Linked DNA regions of Homo sapiens: regions 1 and 2 are each linked to region 3. The links are contacts of gene promoters, found by promoter capture Hi-C in blood cells and fetal thymus (Javierre and others, 2016). All regions are on one chromosome and are shown on one strand. Each heading gives the region's core, a stretch centred on a gene start or on the middle of the fragment in contact. The rest is flanking DNA. Distances are from core to core; before and after follow the strand shown. Region 1 overlaps ERMAP (erythroblast membrane associated protein (Scianna blood group)). Region 2 overlaps IPO13 (importin 13). Region 3 holds the start of CDC20 (cell division cycle 20).

Region 1 (2,700 bases), core at 32-2,531, 530 kb before region 3:
TCATATAACGTAATGTTTTCTAGTTCCATCCATGTCACTTTGAATGATGGGATTTTATTCTTTTTAATGGCTATAAATATTTTAGATGTCTGGCTTAATAGAAGACAGCTGTATTCTCAAGCCAGCTATATCTTTCAATCTGCTGCAGTATGTTTTGTGGTTGAAGTGTATGCAATTGGAAAAGGAGCATTTCAGTAGCTTTTTCAGATAATCGTGGATATTCTTTGATAAGACACCAAAACTCAGCAAGTGGTAGTTTTTTAAAGCTTAGTTGTGACATGAAATCTGAAACCATAGCAATGACCTTTTTATACTCTATTACAGCAACACTCACAGTTTTTTCTTGCATTTTAAATGAATGTTTTACCCATGCAGGGTTTTGTCAACACACCCATTGGTCATTTGGAAATTGCTGAGTCACTGAGTTTTACAGATCTTCTAAATGTTGACACATTTCATTATACAACATCAAAAAATCACATTTATTAATATCAATGCCAATCTCATCAGAAAAGTCTTTTGCTATTGTGAGGGTATCAAGCAGCAGATAAAAATTTTCCAAAATTCTAATTTTTGCTCAAAAGATTGAATGTTCTCATTGACAACAAACACTGTCAGTTGCTTTTCCTGAAGTGACAGGTGCACTTTATTCATTTTGGAGAAAATGCCTGCCAAATACCCAAGTCTGAATAATTATACTTTGTCTTTCAGCTGTACTTTCAGGTAAGAATGGTGCTCCATGAGTCAAGCGATTACTTCAGCTCACAACTCAATCACTTAAGGTTTTTTCCTCGATAAAGTCATCATACTTTGATATGCAGCGTAACTGTTTATGCATCCTTCCCATTTTGTCACACAAACTATTAAAAAGATGTGTATCTAAGAGTTGAAATTTAATAAAATTTGTAACTTCTACTACAGTTTGGTGCCACTTCCTGATTTGTGCTAGCTGTTTTACCCACTATTGCTTTTGCAGTGTCCTTGAAAATGTCAATACCGTGAAAAAGGCAAATAACGTCTTTATTATGATGAATGTAGTTTTAACCTGGATGATAGGGCCTCAGGGACTTCAAGTGTTTGTGGACCACACATTAAGAACTGGTGCTCTAGAGAAATTCTTGCACATGTGAGCAGGAAATACCTATCAAGAATGTTCAGGGCACGAGGCCGGGCGCGGTGGCTCACGCCTGTAATCCCAGCACTTTGGGAGGCCGAGGCGGGCGGATCACAAGGTCAGGAGATCAAGACCATCCTGGCTAACACGGTGAAACCCCGTCTCTACTAAAAATACAAAAAAAAAAATAGCTGGGCGTGGTGGCGGGCGTCTGTAGTCCCAGCTACTCCGGAGGCTGAGGCAGGAGAATGGCATGAGCCCAGGAGGCGGAGCTTGCAGTGAGCCGAGATCGTACCACTGCACTCCAGCCTGGGCGACGGAGCGAGACTCTGTCTCAAAAAAAAAAAAAGAATGTTCAGGACAGTATTATTTATAAAAGCTAAAGCCCAGAAACAACCCACATTTCTATCATTAAGGGACGAGAGAAACTGTTGGTAGATTTATATAATGGTCTACTATATAGCAGTGAATGAATATCCTAGTGCTCTGTGAAACAACCTGGATTAATTTCAGTGTCTTAATTTGTACACCCCCAGAACAGAGTGTGAGGTGTGAGACAAGTACTTCAGTTCAAGAGTGTATTTAGGAGGTAATCCCAGGAAGCAGAAATGGGAATGAGCAAAAAAGGAAGAAAAGTCAATAAAAGGTGCAGTACGGAGCTACTTACCACTATGAACCACCGTGCTCACTCCCATTGGGAACACTCAGAGGAATCATGTCGAATACAGCTCAGAGCTGAAGGTGCAAGCCTGGAGCATTTTGTCTTGACTCCTCTCACTGTTGTTTATGTCTCCGAGGTGTTAGCTTTGGTGAACTTCTGGGCTGCACAGCCTTCCAAGGCTTTGTAGAAAGCCCCAAGACAGGCAAGCAGAAAAATGCCATGGCCTATGAGGTGACATGCTAGCAGCTTGCCTGCAAGTCTCAGCTACACCAAAATTGGGTGGGCTGAGGGGACATGGTGTGGGCCACCACAGATGTCTGCTAGACTCAGAAGCTAATGTTGAATAAAAAAAGGGAATAATTGGGAATTATGTACAATGGGCTCCATCTTTATAAAGTTCAAAGGACATAAAAATGTGTAATGTATTGTTAATGATATAATTATGGAGATTATGAACATACAGCTAAGGATATTATGAAAGCAAGACAGGCGGGAAGCGTTTATCACATGTTGGAAAACAGCAAGCTTGCTTATCAGAAGGCACATGTCAGGGTGTAGCTGGAGATAAAGATAGTGAGTTAAAGAAGGTGGTTAATTGGTGGATGTCTTTGAAACCAATCTTCCAATTTACTCTGATTTGAAAAGTAAAGGGGGAAGGTTTTCAGAAAGAATGTGATAGGATCAAAACGCATCAGAGGGAATTACTATTGGCAGCATTGGAGGAAAAGGGAGTGGAGGGGCAAACGTGCCTCCTACCCGGTCAGTCATACTCAGTGGTTCCCTCATTTTTGGGAGCCTCCTCTTTGCTCTGTTCTTTTATCAGGGGCATACAGACAGGGTGTGGCTTGCTGGTTTACAGGGACAGCGAGAAGGGAGTTCTGTGGGGGCAGAGAGAGCCCTGGCCTCTCATATTTCATAAAATATG
Region 2 (2,775 bases), core at 266-2,765, 590 kb after region 3:
GAGCCAAGGGCTCAGAAAATAATCTGGAACTAAAACAATCTGGGTTGTTTTGACTCTTTGGAGAAGGGTCCTTCCTTTATTGGATGGAAGCCAGACCAGTCCTGAGCAGGCAGGCCTGGGGCTGTCTCCCTTTGTTTTGTGCTGAGTCCAAGGGTCCTGGCCCTGCTGGGAGCCTTACAGGGCTCCTCCCTACTCGCCTGCCCACATAGCTCCCTGCCATGGCCCTCCCAGGCTCCCCGACTGCCCAGCCCATCTTTCTGAACTGCCTCTTTGGTTCTTTTCTGTATCTGCTCCCTACAACTTGAAATGCAGGAATGCATGCACCCTGGGATGAATGGGGAGATGGGGCTCCCTTACTTGAAAGCAGGGAATGATGTTCACTTGTTATCCTTAACCCCCGTTTGCCATAACAAACAATGAGGATGCATCTCTTCTGCCTGCTTTGGCGTCCCTGAGGGGCCAAACAAGGGCCAATGGCCATAACTGGCTGTCAGGGGTACAAATAGAGCTAAGCTTACTTGGATGGAGCCTGCTTAGGGGTCAGGGTCCTGGCCATACTCTTCCGCCCCTTGGAGCAGGGCAGTGTTGGCATGGTGGCGCACTGTTCCATGTGCTATTGGGAGATAAATCTCACTGTTTTCTTACTTCATAAAGTCCCGTTGGAATTGAGACCCCGGGGATTCTGCTAGTGGAGAGCACTAAGCTAGGTGTTTGCCAGGGCTGCAGCTATGGCCAAGGCTTCTCTGGATCAATTGGTTGGACATGTGCCCTCTGAGGAGTGTTCTCACCCTCTCCTCCAGCATGTCTGCCCCAGGGCTGCCTGGCAAAAGTCTTAGTCCTGCTCTGATTTCACACTGGCTTTGGTGCCAGCATCTGGACTGACCTAGGGATGATCCTGGGGGAGCTGAAAGGAGCTGTTGGAGTTGATGGGAGCAGCTGTGCCTGGGAGGGTCAAGTCCCCTCAAGCTGTTCCATGCCCTTCTCAGACTTAGCTTCATCCCTGTGAAGCTGTTCCTTCCACCTGGGCCTTGCCCTCAAGTGCCTCCCCTTTGGGGAGATCAGCCTCCTCTTTTTTGCTTTCCTGTGGAGATTCCCTCTCTGAACCCATAATGTTTTGCTGTAAGGAGAAGAGGATATGGTAGAGCATGGGCAAGGTTCAGGCTCTCAAGATATCAGCAGGACCCCAGGCCCAGGAAACACTGCAGAGCGCTGAGCTCTCCCTGCTCAGCCCCCCAGTCAGGGAGAGGGAGCAGCCTTGCAGGACCAAGTCACGCCTCTGTTCTGGGCTCTGGCAGGATCCAGAGTGGCCAGCACCTGCTCAGTCCTGTGCTGTCCTGCAGGCGCTGCACCAGCTCTACTATGATCCCAACATTGAGAATAAGAACCTGGCTCAGAAGTGGCTGATGCAGGCCCAGGTCTCCCCACAGGCCTGGCACTTCAGCTGGCAGCTACTGCAGCCCGACAAGGTACCAGAGATCCAGTACTTTGGGGCCAGTGCTCTTCACATCAAGATCTCTCGCTACTGGAGTGACATCCCCACTGACCAGTATGAAAGCCTAAAGGCACAGCTCTTCACCCAGATCACCCGCTTTGCCAGTGGCTCCAAGATTGTACTGACTCGGCTGTGCGTGGCACTGGCCTCACTGGCTCTCAGCATGATGCCTGACGCTTGGCCATGTGCTGTGGCAGATATGGTACGACTCTTCCAGGCTGAGGACTCACCAGTGGATGGGCAGGGCCGCTGCCTAGCCCTGTTAGAGCTGCTGACAGTGCTGCCTGAGGAGTTCCAGACCAGTCGCCTACCCCAGTACCGCAAAGGCCTGGTGCGGACCAGCCTGGCGGTGGAATGTGGGGCTGTCTTCCCGCTGCTGGAGCAGCTGCTACAGCAGCCCAGCTCACCCAGCTGTGTGCGTCAGAAGGTGCTCAAGTGTTTCTCCAGCTGGGTGCAGCTGGAGGTGCCGCTGCAGGACTGTGAGGCGCTCATTCAGGCTGCCTTTGCTGCTCTGCAGGACTCGGAGCTCTTCGACAGCAGTGTGGAGGCCATTGTGAATGCCATCTCACAGCCTGATGCCCAGAGGTGAGCTAGTACCCACTCACCCAGAAGACAACCTCTTTGGCCAGCCACACATCCATCCATCCATCTGTTCAATAAACATTAATTGAATGTGTACTGATACCTGGTCCTATGCTGGAGATACAGCAAGGAACCAAAGAAGACATGGTCCCTGTCCTCATGGTTCAGACAGGGAGGCAGACATTAAACAACTAATTATCAGTTATTCAATTAAAATATTTGACTCTCTTTTCCTTCTCTCAACTAGTCACCAAGTCCTGGCTGTTCCCCTCCTGACCATATTGCAAATCTATTTTTTTCCATTTCCATTGCTACCACCTTAGTCCAAGCTGTCATCATCTCTCTCCCCAGATTACTGTAGAGCTTGTCCTCACTCTTGTACCCTTCATTGTCCCAGCAGCCACAGTGATCTTTTGAAAATGGGGATCTAATCTTTCTGATCAGAAGCTTTCAGTGGCTTCTCAATGCTCTTAGGTTAAAGCTCAGAATCCTTAATGTGACTCATAATGGTGCTGCACAGTATGGCATCACTGGCCTCATCTCATGCTACTCTCCTTGCTCTCTACACGCTCACACAGTTTCTTTAATTCCTTGAATGTCCCATGTTCCTTTCAGCCTCTGGCTCATTACATATACTTGACACCTTGCCTCAGCTTAAACTTCATTTCCATAGGGAAGTCCTCCATGGATTCTTAAGGCTA
Region 3 (2,700 bases), core at 102-2,601:
TATCGCTCTGTTGCCCAGGCTGGAGTGCAGTGGCTCGATCTCGGCTCACTGCAAGCTCCGCCTCCCGGGTTCACGCCATTCTCCTGCCTCAGCCTCTCGAGTAGCTGGAACTACAGGCGCCCGCCACCAAGCCCGGCTAATTTTTTGTATTTTTAGTAAAGACGGGGTTTCACCGTGTTAGCCAGGATGGTCTCGATCTTCTGACTTCGTGATCTGCCCGCCTCGGCCTCCCAAAGTGCTGGGATTACAAGCGTGAGCCACCGCGCATGGCCTGTAAATTGTTTTAACACAGTAGTTAGATGGTCCATAAATGGTACCATTATTACTTTTATGATTGCTGCTCCACCTCTGAGCACATTCATACAATTCACTCAAGTCATTATTAGAGCACTAGATTGAGTGCGAGTCAGACCTGGATTCCCACAAACTTCTTTGTATGACCTCGGGCACATCCCTTCCCTGGGCCTCCGTTTCTCCATCTGTAAAATATGGATTTGTTGTCGGGGTGGGGAGGCTGCACCACGCACAGGTTAGACTAATGGATCTCTAAGGTCCTCACATCTTTAAAGCCCCAAGGGGATAAGCCACAGTGCCTCCTGTAGGGCAGTCTAAGCTTATCTTCCAGATAGGCAGGTTTGAATACCGATCCTTTTTCTTGACCTTAAGGAATTCATTCACCCTTTTCAACCTCATTTTCCCTGTTTGTAAAACAACAGCAAACGAGACAAACACACGTTACTTCCTTTCTAGCAGGGTTCCTACCCGGCGCCAAGCAAAAGTGGAATGTACCCTAAGTAGCTCTGGCCTTCTTCCTGCTCCCAAGCTTCCCAATTCCGTCCCCTGCCCCGCTGCCGCCCGCGGCTCTCCTTCCCCTTCTAGGAACGGCTCAAGCGCCTTGGGCACTCCATCGGGTTCTGCACCGAGTTCTGCATCATAAATACGACTCTCGTGTAGGATTTAAGTGTGAACTTCTGCAGGTTCTCGGACCCTGAAGCACCCGGGGCCAGACATTCCGAGCTCGCGGCGGTGGAAGGCACGCAAAAGGGCGAACCGAGACGACTCCAGGACGCTGAGGCAGCGCAGGCCCCACCCGGCCCCGCCCTGCCCCGCCCTGTCCCGGCCGGCTTTCCAGTACTAGTCCTCTGGCGCCGGCTCCCAGCCCCTCTCGTACCCTTCAAATCGCGCTCCGCCGCTAGACTCTCGTGATAGCTGAGACTTTCCCCGGAAGGCCCGCCCCCTTCGCCGGAGAGGCCAATGGGCTAGGGCAACGGTTGCGACGGTTGGATTTTGAAGGAGCCAATAGGCGCTCGGAGCGGAGAGTTTAAGAGGCGTAAGCCAGGCGTGTTAAAGCCGGTCGGAACTGCTCCGGAGGGCACGGTGAGAGGTGGTGGGGCTGAGCCGAGGTGGGGCCGTGGCCAGGGGGAGGGGGTGCTAGGCCGGAAGGGGCTGCAGCCGAGGGTGGCCCTGATTTTGTGGCCGGCCAGGAGCGAAGGGGTCCCTTTCTGTCCCCTGAGCACCGTCGCCTCCTTTCCTCCAGGGCTCCGTAGGCACCAACTGCAAGGACCCCTCCCCCTGCGGGCGCTCCCATGGCACAGTTCGCGTTCGAGAGTGACCTGCACTCGCTGCTTCAGCTGGATGCACCCATCCCCAATGCACCCCCTGCGCGCTGGCAGCGCAAAGCCAAGGAAGCCGCAGGCCCGGCCCCCTCACCCATGCGGGCCGCCAACCGATCCCACAGCGCCGGCAGGACTCCGGGCCGAACTCCTGGTCAGTGAGGTGCCAAAGGAACTGAGTGAGAGCAGCCTTCATACTTTCTCCCTGGGGAGCCTGGTCAGACTGTCTTCTCTTTCTCCGCCCCAGGCAAATCCAGTTCCAAGGTTCAGACCACTCCTAGCAAACCTGGCGGTGACCGCTATATCCCCCATCGCAGTGCTGCCCAGATGGAGGTGGCCAGCTTCCTCCTGAGCAAGGAGAACCAGCCTGAAAACAGCCAGACGCCCACCAAGAAGGTATGTGTCCCAGAGGGGCTTAAGGCACGGGACCTGACTGTTCTTTGGATAATACCATCTTGCTCCTTCACTACCCTTTATGCCAGGAACATCAGAAAGCCTGGGCTTTGAACCTGAACGGTTTTGATGTAGAGGAAGCCAAGATCCTTCGGCTCAGTGGAAAACCACAAAATGCGCCAGAGGGTAAGACCCGAAGTTCCTGGTTCCTGGAGGGAGGTGTCAGTTCATCTCCAGGGCTGAGCACAGATATCTGTCTCCTCTTCCTATCTAAGATTGAGGGCAAGGGAGGTGTTGATTTTCCCAGCGTCTAGACTCACTCCGTTGCCACAGGTTATCAGAACAGACTGAAAGTACTCTACAGCCAAAAGGCCACTCCTGGCTCCAGCCGGAAGACCTGCCGTTACATTCCTTCCCTGCCAGACCGTATCCTGGATGCGCCTGAAATCCGAAATGACTATTGTAAGTGCATCCTTATCCTCGCCTCATGCATGGAGAAAGAGGGCCTGGGACCACACAAACAAGGAAGCTCATGCTCTTCTCTCCACCTCTGACAGACCTGAACCTTGTGGATTGGAGTTCTGGGAATGTACTGGCCGTGGCACTGGACAACAGTGTGTACCTGTGGAGTGCAAGCTCTGGTGACATCCTGCAGCTTTTGCAAATGGAGCAGCCTGGGGAATATATATCCTCT

Evidence for each region. The method cuts DNA at HindIII sites, captures the fragments that hold promoters and counts their contacts. A CHiCAGO score of 5 or more calls a contact.
Region 1: a fragment that was not itself captured here is called in contact with the fragment with the promoter of CDC20 in region 3 in 2 of 17 cell types (neutrophils and erythroblasts); the score reaches 7.0 in neutrophils.
Region 2: a fragment that was not itself captured here is called in contact with the fragment with the promoter of CDC20 in region 3 in 1 of 17 cell types (naive B cells); the score reaches 5.0 in naive B cells.

Annotation. Positions count from the first base shown.
Region 1 is chr1:42,822,898-42,825,597 of GRCh38, forward strand. The region is part of intron 1 of ERMAP (erythroblast membrane associated protein (Scianna blood group)); the gene reads left to right. Among named protein-coding and RNA genes, the nearest start is that of SVBP, 6.9 kb to the left of the region's middle. The HindIII fragment of the contact is 2,034 bases long and covers 265-2,298 here.
Region 2 is chr1:43,948,077-43,950,851 of GRCh38, forward strand. IPO13 (importin 13) reads left to right here. Exons shown (of 20, transcript NM_014652.4): 2 at 1,341-2,077. Among named protein-coding and RNA genes, the nearest start is that of IPO13, 2.5 kb to the left of the region's middle. The HindIII fragment of the contact is 2,008 bases long and covers 512-2,519 here.
Region 3 is chr1:43,357,630-43,360,329 of GRCh38, forward strand. CDC20 (cell division cycle 20) reads left to right here and starts at 1,352. Exons shown (of 11, transcript NM_001255.3): 1 at 1,352-1,377; 2 at 1,538-1,767; 3 at 1,861-2,009; 4 at 2,096-2,192; 5 at 2,340-2,468; 6 at 2,564-2,700. The coding sequence starts at 1,587. It overlaps CDC20-DT (CDC20 divergent transcript), which reads right to left and starts at 1,044. Exons shown (of 4, transcript NR_183650.1): 1 at 921-1,044; 2 at 413-479; 3 at 174-271. RefSeq lists enhancers at 121-629, 741-800, 1,140-1,648 and silencers at 1,091-1,200, 1,391-1,540. The HindIII fragment of the contact is 10,275 bases long and covers 822-2,700 here.